Regions from separate parts of the Homo sapiens genome. Here all the other regions are linked to region 3. The links are contacts of gene promoters, found by promoter capture Hi-C in human tissues and cell types (Jung and others, 2019). All regions are on one chromosome and are shown on one strand. The core of a region is centred on a gene start or on the middle of the fragment in contact, and the rest is flanking DNA. Distances in the headings are between cores, read along the strand shown.

Region 1 (2,700 bases), core at 201-2,700, 170 kb after region 3:
CAGGGGCTGCAGCCAGCCCTATCCTGGCTGTGTCCTGGGCTCGCCCGCAGCAGCTGCTGGCACCTGGACGGCGGCGCCAGGCTCACCTCTATAGTGGGGTCGTATTCGTCCACAAAATGGTTCTGGATCAGCTGGATGGTCAGCGCACTCTTGCCCACACCGCCGGCGCCCACCACCACCAGCTTATATTCCGTCATCGCTCCTCAGGGGCCTGCGGCCCGGGGTCCTCCTACAGGGTCTCCTGCCCCACCTGCCAAGGAGGGCCCTGCTCAGCCAGGCCCAGGCCCAGCCCCAGGCCCCACAGGGCAGCTGCTGGCAGGGCCATCTGAAGGGCAAACCCACAGCGGTCCCTGGGCCCCAACGCCAGGCAGCAAGGACTGCAGCGTGCCTACCTGTGCAGCTGCAACCCAGCGTGCGGGAGGGCTGTCGCCTCGCCCCCACTTGCTCTTAATGACCCAGTGATGGGAAAAGGGACCCAGCCCTCAAAGGCAGGGCTGACAGCTGAGCGCTCTCAACCACGCACCCAAATTAGAAGCTGCTGGGTCGGCAGAAAGGCTAAAGGGAGGCGCCCGAGGGCTGAGGTTACCGTCCTCCAGAACAGGTCTGGCCACGGCGGAGCGCGCCACGGCGTGCCCGGGCAGGCTAGTGCCAGCCTGCAGGCCCCGCGGCGCTGGTGCCTCCGACAAGTATTTGCTGAGCGCCTACTGCGTACTAGGCGCCGCCGAGGGGAGGGCAGACCCGGGCAGCGCCCCGCACCCCCGGCGGGGAACCGGGGGCATCTTTCAGCCACAGAAAGCTGGAGAAGACAGAGGAGCTCCTGGGAAGCAGGGACTGAGCGACAGGAAGGGGCCGAGAAGCGGCGCGGGAGACCCGGAGAGGGAAAAGGCACTGGGGCTGAGGCCCCCGGCCTGGTCCGCGACCTGTGATGCTGAATCGGGGGTGCCCGGGCGTGCCGTGGCCGCGGCCGCCTCCTCCCAGACGCCCCCGGGTGTGAGGGCGCCGGGCCCGAGGCTCCCGGGTACGCCGGCGTGGGGACCGTGCCCAGCGCGAGGCCACGGGTGGGGCCCGGATTCCCGCAGGCCCCAGGGAGGAAGGGGCCCCCGCCCGCCGCAGCCCCCGACGCCCGCTCACCTGTGCCCGCGGGCCCCGCCCGGCCCCACCCACCCGCCGCCGCCGCCGCCGCCGCCGCTTACGCCCGCCGGCCCCGCGCCCCCGGCCCGCGCCGCGCGTATTGCTGCCGCCTGGGGGCGAGGAGGGCGCGCGGCCCGGCCGATCCCTGCCCGCACTCACCGTTCACAGGCGCGACTGCCCCCGGGGCCAGGGCCGGGGCCGAGGCCGGGGCGGGGCGGGGGCGGGGGCGCGCGGTTCGCCCCGCGCATGGGCTCCGTCCGCGGCGGGTGCGGCTCGGGTTGCGGGCGCAGGGCACGGGCGGCGGAGACTCGGGCGGGCCTGCGCACGCCCCGCCCCGCGCCCGTCCGTCTGCCAGGCGCGGCCTACCATTGGCTGCGCGCCATCGGGCCCCGCCCCACCCCGGTTGGCTGAGCGGCCCGTCTGTCAGGAGCCGCGGTCGGGCGGGGCTTCCGGGAGCAACGCGGGAGGCGGAGCCAGTAGGGCCGCGGCCTCTCGGGGTTGGGCTTGGCTGGAGACCGGAGCCGAGCTCGGGGTTGCTCGAGGAAGGCCAGGGAGCCGGTGTCTGGGGGCCCGGGGCGGCATCTCCGAGCAGGGCCCCGGGCTCTCCCGGGAACAGGCCGGCGAGAGAACCCGACTCAGCGGTGCCGGTGCACCAGAGGCCCTCCCTGCGCCGGCAGCGCGGCGCCGCCCACCGCGGAGGTCCCGGGGCTACGGGCTGGGGAAAGGCTGGGATCCGCCGGGACCAAGGCGGGATGCTCGGAGCTGGGGGCCCCCGGGTGGCCGCGGGGTCCGGTTGCCCGGCTGCCCTTCCGCGCAGGTGGAGCGGCCGCGCACCCCACCTACCACCACGCACCCCAGCTCCCCTACTCCCACCGCAACCCACCCCGAGGACGCTTGCAGCCCCGGTGGGGTTCCGGGCGGCGGGCGCAGCCGTGTGCCCTGGGGCCAGGCGTGAGAACGCCCCCTCCACCACTCTCCTCTTTCTCGGGCCTGCGTGGCAGGCGACCCTGCCCGCCCAGTCCCCCCAAACTTGAGGTTCCAACGCTGCAGAAGCTCAGCGTGGTCCAGTTAAACCGTACCCACAAGTTGCCACAGGGGAGCGAAGTGCCCAGGGCTCACCCCAAGCACATAGACGCACATCCTAGCTCTTTCAAACCCAAAAAGACATGTTTTTAACATTTTTTAAAATTGCAAAGGAATCAGAAATACATCCTCATTAAAAAACAAAAAGGGCCGGGCGCGGTGGCTCACGCCTATAATCCCAGCACTTCGGGAGGCCTAAGCGGGTGGATTACTTGAGGTCAGGAGTTCAAGACCAGCCTGGCCAACATGATGAAACCCTGTCTCTACTAAAAACACAAAAAATTAGTCGGCTGCAGTGGCGCGCGCCTGTAGTCCCAGCTACTCGGGAGGCTGAGGCAGGAGAATCGCTGGAACCCGGGAGGCGGATGTTGCGGTGAGCCGAAATCGCGCCACTGCACTGGGCAACAGAGCGCTACTTCGTCTCAAAACAAAAAAGGCGTTTTACAGTCAGGCAAACCCTGCCTCTGCCCAGTCCAGCGCCCGCCT
Region 2 (2,933 bases), core at 54-2,553, 150 kb before region 3:
ACTGTCTAAGGCCGGGCGTGGTAGCTCACGCCTATAATCCCAGCACTTTGGGAGACTGAGGCAGGTAGATCACAAGGTCAGGAGATCGAGACCATCCTGGCCAACATGGTGAAACCCCATCTCTGCTAAAATACAAAAAAAAAGTTAGCTGGGCGTGGTGGTGGGCGCCTGTAGTCCCAGCTGCTCGGGAGGTTGAGGCAGGGGAATCACTTGAACCCAGGAGGCAGAGCTTGCAGTGAGCTGACATTGTGCCACCGCACTCCAGCCTGGCAACAGAGTGAGACTTCGTCTCAAAAAAAAAAAAGAGACTAATGTCGCCAGATTTATTGGAGATGGCCCAGTGTCCAAATTAAGAGCCTGCTTAAGGCCAATTTAGATGTTTAAAATAGGAAACTGCTTAAAGCCAGGAGGCAGCAGTTAGGGTTTGGGCCCAGTTAACAGAAGGTCCAACCAGGCTTCCCCAGTAAATGGGAGCAGCCTACTTGGTAGAGAGGAAGGTAGCAGCCACGGGTGAGTAGGACCCCTGCCTGGCCAACTGGGCCCCTTCCCCAGCCCCACTGCACCTTTCCCCAACAGGAACAGAGTCATCCAGCCAATGGGGATGAGTCCCCGGGGTCATCTTACGTCCCTGCAGGATGCCATGTGCGAGACTATGGAGCAGCAGCTCTCCTCGGACCCTGACTCGGACCCTGACTGAGGATGGCAGCTCTTCTGCTCCCCCATCAGGACTGGTGCTGCTTCCAGAGACTTCCTTGGGGTTGCAACCTGGGGAAGCCACATCCCACTGGATCCACACCCGCCCCCACTTCTCCATCTTAGAAACCCCTTCTCTTGACTCCCGTTCTGTTCATGATTTGCCTCTGGTCCAGTTTCTCATCTCTGGACTGCAACGGTCTTCTTGTGCTAGAACTCAGGCTCAGCCTCGAATTCCACAGACGAAGTACTTTCTTTTGTCTGCGCCAAGAGGAATGTGTTCAGAAGCTGCTGCCTGAGGGCAGGGCCTACCTGGGCACACAGAAGAGCATATGGGAGGGCAGGGGTTTGGGTGTGGGTGCACACAAAGCAAGCACCATCTGGGATTGGCACACTGGCAGAGCCAGTGTGTTGGGGTATGTGCTGCACTTCCCAGGGAGAAAACCTGTCAGAACTTTCCATACGAGTATATCAGAACACACCCTTCCAAGGTATGTATGCTCTGTTGTTCCTGTCCTGTCTTCACTGAGCGCAGGGCTGGAGGCCTCTTAGACATTCTCCTTGGTCCTCGTTCAGCTGCCCACTGTAGTATCCACAGTGCCCGAGTTCTCGCTGGTTTTGGCAATTAAACCTCCTTCCTACTGGTTTAGACTACACTTACAACAAGGAAAATGCCCCTCGTGTGACCATAGATTGAGATTTATACCACATACCACACATAGCCACAGAAACATCATCTTGAAATAAAGAAGAGTTTTGGACAAAAATGTATGTGTAAATTATCAAATAAAGGGGCCAGGCACAGTGGCTCATGCCTGTAATCCCAGCACTTTGGGAGGCCGAGGTGGGTGGATCACTTGAAGCCAGGAGTTCGAGACCAGCCTGGCCAACATAGCAAAACCTTGTCTCTATTACAAATATGCCCATGTGCTAGGTGTGGTGGGACACACCTGTAATCCCAGCTACCCAGGAGAATCGCTTAAACCCGGGAGGCGGAAGTTGCAGTGAGCTGAGATCATAACACCGCACTCCACCCTGAGTGACAGGGCAAGACTCAAAAAATAAAAAAGGAACATTAACTAGGGTTAGAAACTAACTTCATTCTTTTTAGAATTCAACAGTTTTCCTAGGTCACCAATTCCACCTTTTGTTCTTATTAAGGCGCAAAGTCACAGGACCCCCTTCCTGGGAGTCACTGTCATTAAATCTATTGCCGTCAGCTCAGCCCAGGGTAGGCAAGGTTCAAGAATGGGAAGTGCTTTTGTCTGGGGAAACACGCAGGTAATGTGATGCTAGGAAGGAGGATGTGCAGGTGGGTGAGAGCCCAGGAGGGAGCAGCTGGTGCCTGACAGGGTGAGCCATCAGGGCTGGGCCTGGGTACAGCCCCAGGAGAAGGAGCCTGTGCAGAAGTAGCAGTTCAGTGGATTCCACCTCCTATGTCACAATCCAGCAGGTGGCCAGGACTCAGCCTGGGTTTTAAGTGAGTAATGCCTTCCCTGTCTCAGAGATTAGCTCTAACAGTGTCACTAGAGGAAGCCCTGGCGAGGGTGGGGGGGCGTAGTGTGGGGACAAGGAGGCCAGATAGAAAGTGCTGGAATGTTCTGGAACAGATCTGTTTCTGGAGGAGAGGCTGAGTATGGAGAGTCAACAGAATGTGACCACCTTCAGAGGGAGGAGCTGGGCCGTCTCCAATAAATCCAGGGACAAATGCCTTCAGTCCTCAGACTGTTCCAATAGAGGGGACGCCACGTATCCCAGGGTTCCCTTTCCAACTCATGTCAACACCTGCAGTCCCTTTGAGGAGACTAAATGTATTTCATGCTGGAAAGAACAGATTTTCTCTCATTAAAAATAGCCCCACTAAAGGAGACCAACATGCTAGAAGTGCGGCACCAGGGCCTCAAGACTACACTTCGGAACATGAAGAGGGCTGGGGACCGCTCGGCCCAAGTCTGGATCTTGTAACCAACAGATGCCGAGCTTGCCGTTCAACTAGGCACAGAAAGCAGACTCGGTCTGGGATTCCAGTTGGTCTGATTCAGTTCAAGAGGGTCACAGTCAGAAGAAAGCTTTTTCCATTAGGAGCTTCAGCAGAGTGAAGAGTTCAACACAGCAAACAGGCAGGCAGCTCCTTTGTATATGTGACGGGGTGGCCCTGACTGTAAACACAGCCCTACCAGTCACTGCAGCTCATGGCCTGAGAAGACATTCCAGTGGCAGCCTCGGGTGTCCACTCAGTT
Region 3 (2,777 bases), core at 21-2,520:
GATGTAACCAGCTTGCTTCTGTGCTCAGAAGTTAGGGGAGGAGGATGGAGGGGAAGGAGGGAAGGAGTTGAGGTCTTAAGAAGGCAACTTCTGGGCAATCTTCCATTGTGAGGTGGGGTCCACGTCCCCACAACCCACGAACTTGGGTGGCCGTGCGGCATGTGGCAAACCTGAGGGGTGACTCCAAGATGCTTCACTCTGTGTGCTGGACCGGGAGGCTGCCCCTGGCAGCTGAGCCTGCAGGCGCTCTGGCCAACCACCCGGGGTGAGCCCAGCCATTCCTGCCGAGGGTGCACTGGCTTGGGGCAGAAGTCTCTGGATGGCTCCAGCCTGTCCCGCGGAGCCGGCCCCACCACTCACGTCTTCCCACCGGAGGCCAGCACCTCGAGGAGCAGAGAGGAGCTGTCCCCGAGTGCCCTGAGTTCCTGACCCACAGGACACAGGAACACAGGAACGCTGCTGTTGGACAGCACTGAAGCTGGGCGGTTTGCTACACACCCAGAGACAGCTGAGCAGACAGAGGGAGAAGAGTAGGGTCACGCTGGCAGCTGGACAAGGGAAGTACTGGGGGGACAGAGGGACTGGCAGGGGTTGGTGCAGACCAGGTGAGAAAGGGCACGAAGTGGGACAAGGTCCCGGTGAGAGGCACGACACTGTCACCTGCCTCAGGCCGCGCTCGGTGGGGCGGGGGCCACCAGCTGAGGCCCCTCCTGCCGCCCAGACAGCTCGGCCCCCTGCGGCCCCAGCCCTGCAGGCTGAGATCCCGCAACGACTCCCACCCCTGGGCTGAAGCCGGTGCTTGGGCCCCCCCGCCCCCCGGCCTCTCTCGCCCGCCCCCATTCCCCGCCCCCCAGGACCCCGGGTCCCTCCCCTCCCTCCTCCGTGTTGTCCGCCTGCAGTCCTTCGGGTCACTGTTCTCGGGAGGCCGCCCCGCCCCACAGTCAGGCTGTGCCCATCCCCCGCCGCCCCCCACGGTCCCCGAGCCCCAGCGCTTCCCAGCCCCGCGTCTGTGTGCCGCGCCCCCGCGCTCCGTGGCCCAGGTGGACGCGCGCCCCGCGCCCCGCATCCCTGTCCGTCCCGCACCCCTCACCCCCCGCCCCGCACCCTCCGCACCCCCCGCCCCGCCCCGCCTCCCCTCGCCCCGCCTCCTCCGCCCCGCACCCCGCGCCCCGCCCCGCCTTCCCGCGCCCCGCACCCCTCCCCGCGCGCCGCCATTGGCTCCCCGCGGCCTGGCTCGGTCCGATTGGTTCCGCGCGCGCGGCCGGGGCCCGATCCGCGGTGGCAGCCGTGGATGCTGTTCGGTCCCGCCGCCGCCCCAGGAGCGCGGAGCCGGGAGCGGCCGGGCGGGGGGCACCGCGAGGAGCCGCCCCCGCCGCCCACCCCGGGCCCGCGGCCGAGGGCGGCCTGGGGGGGTCGCGGCCGCACCCGGTGGCCGCGCACGGCGGACAAAGGACCATGCGGGGCCGCGGGCGCTGAGCGCGGCGGGGCGGGCCGGGGATGCGGCGCGGGGCGGGCGGGGGCCGGGGGCTGCAGCGGCGCCGCTGAGCGCGGCCTGGGGCGGGCGCGGCGGCCGCGATGCCGCGGCTCCCGGTGAAGAAGATCCGTAAGCAGATGAAGCTGCTGCTGCTGCTGCTGCTGCTGAGCTGCGCCGCGTGGCTCACCTACGTGCACCTGGGCCTGGTGCGCCAGGGACGCGCGCTGCGCCAGCGCCTGGGCTACGGGCGAGGTACGGCGCGGGGGGCGCGGGGGGCGCGGGGGGCGGGGGCGGCGCGGGGGGCGCGGGGGGCGCGGGCGGCGCGGGGGGCGCGGGCGGCGCGGGCGGCGGGGGCCCCGGGGCGCGGGCCGGGCCTCCCACCGCACAGAGGTCTCGGCTGGGCCCGACCCTCCCGGAGACCCCGCCCGCTGTTCTCCGCTCTGCGATTTGGGGGGAGGGGGCGCGGTTCGGCTCGGCCCGGACGCTCGATGACGTCGGCAGTGACGCGCGCGACCCTCCCAGAGAGGGTCCCTGACTCTGGGATCTGGCTTGGATCCGGTAGTGAGGGGCTGACGGTGGGCTCCTGGGGAAGTCTCTGCCCCTAGACCCTGCTGAGGCTTCCAAGAGGCCTTCTCAGGCCTCGCCTCCACCCCCTGCCCGCTTAGCAGGGCCTCAGTTTCCCTGTGTGCTGGGGACCCGGGCCGGGGCTTGCTGAAGTGGCCGGTGCAGCTGGGACGCTTCCCGGCGGGGGCGCCTTCGGTGAACTGTGCCAGTGTTGTGGGGGTCCATGCGTAGGGATGGGGCCCAGCTTGGGGAGCCTGGCGTAAACTCTCCCAACCCCAACCCACAAACAAAGCAGATGGGGTCACGGTGAGCCAGCCGGGGTAGGGCCTCCTGGAGATGGTGATCTTTGACATACACCTTTGGGGGAAAGAGCATTCCAGACAGGAAGGCGCAGATGAAAGCCTGGCGGTGGGGTTGGGGGAGAAGGTGGGGCAGAATGCCCCCTCTGGAGGAGGGAGGTTAGTGCCATGCCCAGACCAGGAGAGACCCCAGCTGGCTGCCTCTGAGCCTTTTCCAGGGAGCCAGGTGTCCTGAGGGGGCAGAACAATGATACTGGCTGGGGACTCCTGGGCCACTCCACCTGCCAAAGCCCCTGTGTTCTCTTCCTGTACCGGGACGCCTGGACCCACACAGGCCAAGGGTCTGGGGCTTGTCCCAACCCACATACCTCACAGCTTCCACACCCTCAAGAGACCCCCGATACTGCTGAATCCCTAAAAAGCCCCACCCCAGCTATCAG

The links. The method cuts DNA at HindIII sites, captures the fragments that hold promoters and counts their contacts. A contact is called where the count stands out against the background at its distance.
Region 1: a contact is called between the fragment with the promoter of HRAS here and the fragment with the promoter of B4GALNT4 in region 3, in 1 of the 25 tissues and cell types used here (pancreas).
Region 2: a fragment that was not itself captured here is called in contact with the fragment with the promoter of B4GALNT4 in region 3 in 4 of the 25 tissues and cell types used here (H1 embryonic stem cells, IMR-90 fibroblasts, liver and 1 more).

Annotation. Positions count from the first base shown.
Region 1 is chr11:534,126-536,825 of GRCh38, forward strand. It overlaps HRAS (HRas proto-oncogene, GTPase), which reads right to left and starts at 1,451. Exons shown (of 6, transcript NM_005343.4): 1 at 1,291-1,451; 2 at 87-250. The coding sequence starts at 197. It also overlaps a transcript of LRRC56 not described here. RefSeq lists enhancers at 1-524, 525-1,381, 1,403-2,110 and a silencer at 388-547. The HindIII fragment of the contact is 24,710 bases long and covers 1-2,700 here.
Region 2 is chr11:213,654-216,586 of GRCh38, forward strand. It overlaps RIC8A (RIC8 guanine nucleotide exchange factor A), which reads left to right. Exons shown (of 10, transcript NM_001286134.2): 10 at 577-1,460. The coding sequence ends at 697. It overlaps SIRT3 (sirtuin 3), which reads right to left. Exons shown (of 7, transcript NM_012239.6): 7 at 1,377-2,933. Among named protein-coding and RNA genes, the nearest start is that of MIR6743, 5.8 kb to the left of the region's middle. The HindIII fragment of the contact is 6,100 bases long and covers 1-2,933 here.
Region 3 is chr11:368,229-371,005 of GRCh38, forward strand. It overlaps B4GALNT4 (beta-1,4-N-acetyl-galactosaminyltransferase 4), which reads left to right and starts at 1,271. Exons shown (of 20, transcript NM_178537.5): 1 at 1,271-1,726. The coding sequence starts at 1,576. RefSeq lists an enhancer at 1-342. The HindIII fragment of the contact is 30,748 bases long and covers 1-2,777 here.